Regions from separate parts of the Homo sapiens genome. Here all the other regions are linked to region 3. Evidence: promoter capture Hi-C in 16 types of primary human blood cells and fetal thymus (Javierre and others, 2016). All regions are on one chromosome and are shown on one strand. The core of a region is centred on a gene start or on the middle of the fragment in contact, and the rest is flanking DNA. Distances in the headings are between cores, read along the strand shown. Region 1 has its middle 2.8 kb from the start of PCNP. Region 2 overlaps DCBLD2 (discoidin, CUB and LCCL domain containing 2). Region 3 holds the start of TBC1D23 (TBC1 domain family member 23).

Region 1 (2,967 bases), core at 304-2,803, 1.3 Mb after region 3:
GGCTCCACTTCATAAGTAACAGAACACATAGTATATAGGTATAAATGCAGGTACCACACCTCAGATATGGTTGAGAATATATAGAAGTTCTGTTTGATTACTATTATTTTCTCACTGAAAATAAAAAGCAAAATCATCCCAAGTGGGAGGACGTAATGGACATTTTTGGAGAGCCAACAAAACATGAAATAGTATAGGAAAGTGAGTGAATTAGGGCAGTGGTTCTCAAAGTGTGGTTCCCCAACGAGCAGCATCAGCATTACTTGGGAACTAGTTAGAAATGCAAATTTTAGGGCTCCAGCCATTGAGTCAACTGAATCAGAAACTGGCAATGGGGCCCAGCAATCTGTTTTAACATGTCCTTCAGGTGATTCTGATGTACACTGAAATTGAGAATAGTCTGAGGACATGTAATAGAATTATAAGGCTACATTAAGAACCTACTTAATGGCTCATGCCTGTAATCCGAGAATTTTGGGAGGCTAAGGCAGGAGGATCACTTCAGCCCAGGAGTTCAAGGCTGCAGTGAGCTATGAGCCACTGTACTCTAACCTGGGCAACAGAACGAGATCCTGTCTCAAAACAAAAACAAAAACAAAACAAAAAAAAGAACCTACTTAAGGTTAGTGAAATCAAGATTAGCCACTTTTCTTCTCCACTCTAATTTTTTTTTTTTTTTTTTTGGTAGCTCTTGGCCTGAATTTCAAGTTCAGCTCCACTTCTTACTTATCTTTTCCGTGCCCAAATTCCCTCTTCCATAAAAATGGGAGTAACAGTAGCACTTAATTCACAGGGTTGTAATGATTTAATGTACTGAATTTCATGTAGAATACCTGCAACAATGCTTGGTGTATAGTAAGCTTGAATAAATGTTAGATATTATAGTTGTCGCCTCACAAATTACACATCTAAATTAAAATAATAATTGCTCATATTACCTTCCATTTCCAGCCTTTTAAACCACTTAAATAGCTCACTAGAGGTTATAATCCATAGCTACTATGAAGCAAGCTCTCACCATGGCCAGGCAGCATATTATAGATTTAACCTTTATTATCCCAATGCCCTCAGTAACCCTATATGTATTATTCCATTTGTATAGTTATAACATATTCCATAACATTGTTATCCAGTACAAACTCACAGAATTAGCAAAATGCAGAATTAGAATTTAAGTCGAGTTTTTGTGTGGTGCAAAACTAATGCTCTTTGCCTTGGACTACATTGCCTATTCATTGTCAGAAAACGGTACCCCAAAATTTGGTGCTTTGACATGCTGAACTAGAGAAGCAGCCGCAAGGTTTCTCTGATCTCCCCACCCCACCTCCTGCCTCTCAATCCTCTGCCTCCCCCAAAACACGGGATAAGACTGTTCTTTGAAGTTTCTTATCTACCTAGAAACCACACACATCAAAGAACACAATTGCTTTCTATCTGCTTCCTCCCTGAAATTTCATTAACCAGAAGAAATTAAAACATATCACAAAGCCAGATACAGTGGTGCACACATGTAGTCCCAGCTACCTGTGAGTCTCAGATGGGAGGATTCTTGAGGCCAGGAGTTTGAGGCTGTAGTGTGCTATCATCATGCCTGTGAATAGCCACCACACTCCAGCCTGGGCAACACAGTGCGACCTGGTCTCATAAAAAAACAAAACTCACATCATAGAGGAAGAGACTGAAAATTAACCACCACACTTAGAGCCCAAACTTTGCCTCAAACTACTGTTTTTTGTTTTTGAGACAGGGTCTCACTCTGTCACCCAGGTTGGAGTGCAGTGGCGAGATCTTGGCTCACTGCAACCTTGCCTCCGGGGCTCAAGTGATCCTTCTATCTCAGCCTCCCTAGTAGCTGGGATTATGGGAGTGAGTCACCACGACTGGCCTTCGAATTATTATTGGTTCTCTAGTTTCACTTGGTTTACAAAGAGAATAATTTACAAGTGAATTTCTGCATTAATCTCTCCTAAAATCATTTACTACTCCTCTAAAATTGCCTGTAGCCCCCCCACCTCTCTCTCCCCTATGAAAAGTATTAAACTTCAACCATCTGACCCTTTTTTTAGTTTTCTTATTTTGTTGTATCATTCCCATGCTTATGCACATTAATTTTCTCTTGTTAACCTGTCTTTTATTAACAAGCATGTTGTCATGACTCTTTTGATGGGGAGGAAAGTGATCACCCCCTTTCCACCCCTTCATACTACACTACCTTTCCATTTCCTAACCCGTTTGTAGGAGGTTACTGAAGCTTGCATTAATTTCTTCAATAGATATTTATCCAGACTAGTATAATCCAGGTGCTGGGGAAACAGTGGTGAACAAGACAGGCACACCTCATGAAACTCACAGAACTGAAAGGTGAATGGATTACTATCTTCATCCTTTTTTTGTTTCGTTTTTTTCCTTTCATACCTAGTCCTGCACATGCATCCTTAACTTCTGCAGTGTGGTATATGGGAACTGGATCCGCTCCTAAATAGGTATGTGACTTCTCTGAGCTTTATCTTCTTCACTTAAAAATTACAAGCATCGGCCGGGCACGGTGGCTCACGCCTGTAATCCCAGCACTTAGGGAGGCTAAGGTGGGCGGATCACAAAGTCAGGAGTTCGAGACCAGCCTGGCCAACATAGTGAAACCCCGTCTCTACTAAAAATACAAACATTAGCCGGGTGTGGTGGCACGCGCCTGTTGTCCCAGCTACTCGAGAGGCTGAGGCAGGAGAATCGCTTGAACCCAGGAGGCGGAGGTTGCAGTGAGCCAAGACCATGCCATTGCACTCCAGCCTGGGTGACAGAATGAGAGACTCCATTCCACCCCCCATAAAAAATTACAAGCATCTGTAAATACATAATCTCAAATAAAAATCTTCGTGTATATCTCCATTTTTAAAATGATAGAAACGAGAGTCTCAATGATTACCTTGAAAAGATCACAAGGAAAATGAAACAAACATGAATTAAGTA
Region 2 (2,714 bases), core at 73-2,572, 1.4 Mb before region 3:
CGCTGGCAGGAATAAATACTTAGAATACAGTGTGGAATGTATTATCCGGAGATGAGTGTGTGGGGACTGTTCGAGAACTCTTCATAAAGGGATGATACCCAAGAAGGGTTTTGAAGGCTGATCGAGAGTTTACCGAGAAGACAAGGAAAGTAAGAGCATTTCAAGTAGAGGAAACTGCATATATGAAGAGGTTAGTATAGGGAACAAGGCAAAATGGCATGAAATTATATCTTAGAAGAATAAAATTAGCTCAGTCTCATATCTGAACTATACAGTGTGAGAAATGCTGGCATTAGATTAAGTCAGAGTGAAAGGGAGGGACCAGACTGTGAAAAAAATTACTTACATGATACGCAAAGGAGTTTGGACGGTATCTTACAGATGATAAAGGGGCTGCTGGCAACACTATGGAAGTCATTAACACAGCTCCAAGAGGAAAATGCCCCAGCATGTGGTACCATGCCTGGCCCACAGTAACCAACCAACGTTTTTCCAATAACTGGGCAGACACAGGGCATGAGTTCAAGAAGCAAACAGTGGAGCATGACCAGAATGAGTTTTGCTACTCATTCTAAAAGGGTGGGCTTTCACACTCCCACTTTCCTGACTCCCCAGGTTATAATCTTATGATCTTACTCTTCAAATATCTGCTGTTCCTTGTGGACAAGAAACCTACCAAACTTCAAAGCTTACCAATCTAAAACCACTTTATCAGTGAGGCGTCTCCTACTTCTCCAGGAGTTGTGAGCTTTTTCTGCCTTATACAACCTTCTTATAACCTTCCTTGATTATTATTATAGTAGGCGTCTCCTGCTTCTCCAGGAGTGGTGAGTTCTCTCTGCCTTACATAACCTTCTGATATCCTTCCTTGGTTATTATTATATATATTCCAACTTGAATTACTTTCTCAAATAGACTGTAGGTTCTCTGAAGACAATAACAATGTTTTACTCTTCTCTGAATGTCTCAGGACTATACTGAGGTACATGCACACTCTCTTGAGAGTTCACAGTTGGTACCCCTTCATACTGATAGTTCTTAATGAGAGAATGATAAAGAGTGCCAATACCTTCTCTTTGATCCCAGGCAATTCAGTTTTGAAGGCAAGGTTGCACACACCCTACTCAACAAAAGCCTTGCAGGGAATTCTGGGCCACTCTCCTTAAAAAGCAGTTGAGGGAACGTGCATCTTGGGATTCTCCCATAATTCAAGCAGCAAATCAAAGTTTTTCTTTCAATTACACACCCATCAGGGTGCACGTTCAGCTGGTGAATGATGTTTTAGTAGCCCTTGGAAATCATGAGTATCTCATCAGCTTCAGTGGGTACTGCACTGGCACTCATTAGATACTAGTTTATTTGAATATCTGTATTTTCTGTCCTCATAGGTTGTACTAATTTAACCCAAATAATGAACTGAAAAATTAGCCTGATATTTGTTTCTAAACTAACATTTTGAACTGAAATACTTTCTCAAAGATTTTTCTCCAGAATGAAGAATTCAATTAAATACAATAACAGCTCTGAACAATACAGTAATTACTTTATAAATACTGAATGTCTTATGATAAAATTTTGCATTTTGAAATTTTTGTTTTACTGTATTTTGTAGGTATGCTTATGTGTGCTAAATTAGCCTATAAGTTAATTTTACATGAACACACTATTAAAATTACAACTACAAAAGATTATGCAGGTATGTGAATATGTAATAGAAAGGAAAGTTAAAAATTATAAGTCGATGGATTAGAAGACAGAAATGTGGATAATCATCTACGTTTTTAGTTTTGAGTAATAATCATTGTTATCCATACAATATTTAAAAATAAATACAAAGTCCTATGGCCGTAAGGTTGTTATAAAGAAAACCGAATCCAGGAGCCACATCAGAAAAATTGCCAAATTGTCTCACTTCATATTTCAACAATCACACTTAGCAAATATCACTATCTTTATGAAGCTTTTCCTCATCCTTCTACTGTTGGGTCATCATTCCATATCCTTCCAAATATATCAAGAAGTGGAAGCAGAAACTGTCTACTTGTATGCATTCAATTAATGTCCAACATTACTACCTGAGCTTCACTTCCCAGTGTCACTTTGCTAAGTGTAGTCCTAAATTTAAATTCTACTCCTATGTAAATCTAGCCCTTTCCCACATACATGATCTATTAACTTTTGGAAATTAATTTGTCATTTTAATTCTACTACTGGTATTTTACTTATGCCAATTCCACCATTTTAAGATATTTTTACATGTTTGTCTTTAAAATGAGGCTCAGATGTTCAAATGGAATTATCAACTATCCCCAGGGAAAATAATATGTTCTTTTTGTTTCTAACACTGAGAAATCTACCTATAATTTACCTGCAATCTTAGAATCAATTTTTCATTTACAAGTTTCAAAAATGTGCTGTTTCAATCTGATCATTCACACGTGTGGATTGTGTGCTGCTTCTAATTTTCATTTTGTAAAATTAATTAGAAATATAGCAGAAAAGGATGCTTTGATTTATTTGCTTCTGAACAAAACTGGATAAGAGCCCCAATGTTTTATCAGACAAAGAAAAGACAATGGAAATTTCTAAATTAACCTAATGTCAATGTGAAAAATAATTACAAATGTTTATTTGCAGAGAGAAATAAGTTTTTATTTTCTGGCAACTCACAAATATTGTTCAAAAATATTTCCCTGCATCACAAGCAAATAAAG
Region 3 (2,869 bases), core at 254-2,753:
TCAATGACTGAATAGGTTTTAAAACCATTTTCTGAAAAGTTTCTGAAAATCTACTGGCAACAATTGAAGGGACCCAGGGGAGGTCCTGAATATTAGAATGGTAATGTGACCTAGATTCACGTCTTTTATTCTTTTTGATAGAGGGCATCTACAGTCTCATTCTATGTTAAAAGAAATGTTCCCTAACAGAGAACTGAACATTACAGAGATCCGGGCCTTGGAAGTGGGTGCAGTACCATGCAGATCTGTATTATTTCCCTTTAGGGAAGAGAGTGAACATGTTTTTGGTTGTAAATGAGATAGCTGTACTGTTTTGTATCTATTTAAAACAAATAGTTTTTGAAACTATGAAACATTTTAGATACCTAAGTATAGACTCTATAAAGAACACTGGCCACCTATGTGGCCACCTTGGGGCCCTTAATAAATATTTAAAAATTCATGGAAACTCCTCCCTTTCCCTGAATGTAACTGCCATTCCGAGTTTTCTATATATCATTCTCCTGCATTTTAAACTCATATGGATCTATTTTAAATATATTGTCTTTTAAACACCAACTATAAATGATACCATACTTTACCTATCCGTCTGCAATCTGTTTTGCTCATTTAACAGCGTATTTTTCAGATGTATCCATATTGTTACATGCAGTTCTACTTCATCACTGTTGTTTTCAGGGCTTGCAAAAGCGTTTCTTTAGGTCCATCCTCCTGAGCGTGTGCTCACCCCAAGGCCCCGGCGGTGGCCAAGTGTCCGCCCATGCGGTGTAAAGGGGAAGTGGAACGCGTAGAGAAGGATTTTGGCAGCTCTGCTTGCCTGGAATTCCAGTCCTAGAATTCTAAATTCGGACTTGATCTTCCAGACTGTTAGGAAGATATATTTAAGGTAGGAGGCTAGAACGTATCTCCTTTAGTATATAGCTTCATTTACAACTTTTAAATATTCAGTCAAAAAGTATGTGGGCCTTCATTTACACTTTTGACGGGGCCTCACAAATAGGGGTGGTCTGCCCCTTTCCTTACGTCCCACTCTTTCTTCAAATTAAATTGCTACAGCAGGAAATTACTGAACTGTGGCTCTTCTCCTACGTCCGCCTTCCCTATGTCAATTCCCATTTCCCTTGCTTTCTCCAATAGTTAGGACTGTAAATTCTAACTTTGTTAATTTCGACGCCAAGCTGGAATGAAGACGCTAAGTGGACGCTAAAAAGACACGCTGTTTGTCACACAAGGCCTCCAACTGGGACGGCGTCCACCGCGCCCCGCCCCGCCCGCGGCACCGTGGCATCTTGGGACATGTAGTCTTTGGAGGGGCAGCTGCCTCCACCAAGTCTCCTCCCCCAAGACGCTGCCTTTCGGCCTCGGGACGCCGTGACGTTGCGTTCCTCCAGTCCCTTGCCACCTCCCTCTTTCTTCCCCTCTGGGGAAGCTCAGTGCTGGACTTCCGAAGACCTTTTACGACATTGAGTCTCGGAGTTGGTCTCAGCGCCGGATCCACTTTTCGGCAAAGTGACGTGGACGTCAACAGCAATGGCGGAAGGAGAAGATGTGCCGCCGCTGCCAACGTCGAGCGGCGACGGCTGGTGAGTGAAAGCCGGGGCTAATTTCCAATGCCCCTTTATTCTTCCTTCTCACCATCTTGCCGGTCCCCGAGGAGCCGTCTGGCGTCGGCATGGAACGGAGAGGCCGGTCCTAGGCGAAGTCCGGTGCCCTGCCCTACCCCTCTGCCAGCTGGGTGCCCCCTGCCTGCCTGGTTCTGCCCAAGGGACTGGGGCGGGACTCCCAAGGAGAGGGGTGTCATCCAGGTGCTGGGCCTCAGAACGGTCCTCCTGTGTCGTCTGTCAGTCTCCAAAGTGTGCTGGAGTGGGTGGCTTCAGGGCTGGGTTTGGCCGGAGTCCTGGCTGTGGGAGTTGGAGTAGGCTGAAGAAGGAAGTTTGTTGGATGCAGATCTGAGTCACTAAAATACAATGTGAAGAAAAGACGTTTTGAAATGACCACTGCGACCTTCGCCTGAGGGTTCAGAGGTTGACCCGAGGAGAATCCCTCCCACTTAGTTGGTATACTTTTTTTTATTCTGGCTGTTATCTCGTTTTGCATTCCAACAGTTTTCATCGTTCGTCTCCTTCACGCAAGTCATCTTTTCCCCTACTACCACATTTCTCACAGCTCGATTTCTGAGCTTTGGATGCAGTGTGGGACTTTGCTCTTACTGCACCCAAGCTGTTGCATGCTTACCTGATTTATACTCGGGATTGTGGGGGAAGACCGCCAATAATTTTTTGGTAAACTGCTCACCCAGTGTTAATCTTTGGGAAAGGCTTCTACTTTTGAAATAGTTGATCTCACGATACACTGTTAGGTTGTACAACATCATTTTTTAAAAAGGGACCTTTAGAGGCTTGTCTAAATTTTACAGTTGATCTAAGTGTATTGACCACATGTATTAGTTTTGGATTTGCTTGTTCGTTATATTGTATGTGTACAGCTCATGGGCACTTTAAAAATAATACAGGACATTGATAGACATCGACTTTAATCCCAGAGGAAAAAAATGGAAATCGTTGAAAGGGATAGATAATTAGTAATTAAGAAATTCAGCTCTCCATTAGCAGACATCAAACATTACCGTAGCGCTGGGCTCTCCAAGGTGTCAGAGGAAAACTTCATGGTGATCTAGATATAGTTTTTTTTTCTTCAACTTGCTTATGTTGGAGTTGGGAAGGTGTAACAAGGTAAAATTAATCTTATTCTTTGTGAGTGTGATTCAAAGTGTTACGAGAGGTTGGCGGTGGGGGCTGGGGCAGTTGGAGTCACTGGGGGAAAGCTTCATGAAAGCAGCAGTGTTTCAACTAGGCTTTGAAGAATAAGT

The links. Contacts are between HindIII fragments. The CHiCAGO score rates a contact against its expected background, and 5 or more counts as called.
Region 1: a fragment that was not itself captured here is called in contact with the fragment with the promoter of TBC1D23 in region 3 in 5 of 17 cell types (neutrophils, naive B cells, fetal thymus and 2 more); the score reaches 7.0 in neutrophils.
Region 2: a contact is called between a fragment that was not itself captured here and the fragment with the promoter of TBC1D23 in region 3, in 1 of 17 cell types (naive CD4 T cells). The highest score is 5.5, in naive CD4 T cells.

What each region holds. Positions count from the first base shown.
Region 1 is chr3:101,569,855-101,572,821 of GRCh38, forward strand. No RefSeq gene overlaps it. Among named protein-coding and RNA genes, the nearest start is that of PCNP, 2.8 kb to the right of the region's middle. The HindIII fragment of the contact is 1,391 bases long and covers 859-2,249 here.
Region 2 is chr3:98,894,884-98,897,597 of GRCh38, forward strand. The region is part of intron 1 of DCBLD2 (discoidin, CUB and LCCL domain containing 2); the gene reads right to left. Among named protein-coding and RNA genes, the nearest start is that of DCBLD2, 5.5 kb to the right of the region's middle. The HindIII fragment of the contact is 1,272 bases long and covers 687-1,958 here.
Region 3 is chr3:100,259,489-100,262,357 of GRCh38, forward strand. TBC1D23 (TBC1 domain family member 23) reads left to right here and starts at 1,504. Exons shown (of 19, transcript NM_001199198.3): 1 at 1,504-1,583. The coding sequence starts at 1,531. RefSeq lists enhancers at 908-1,576, 1,312-1,801, 1,577-2,245. The HindIII fragment of the contact is 5,201 bases long and covers 1-2,822 here.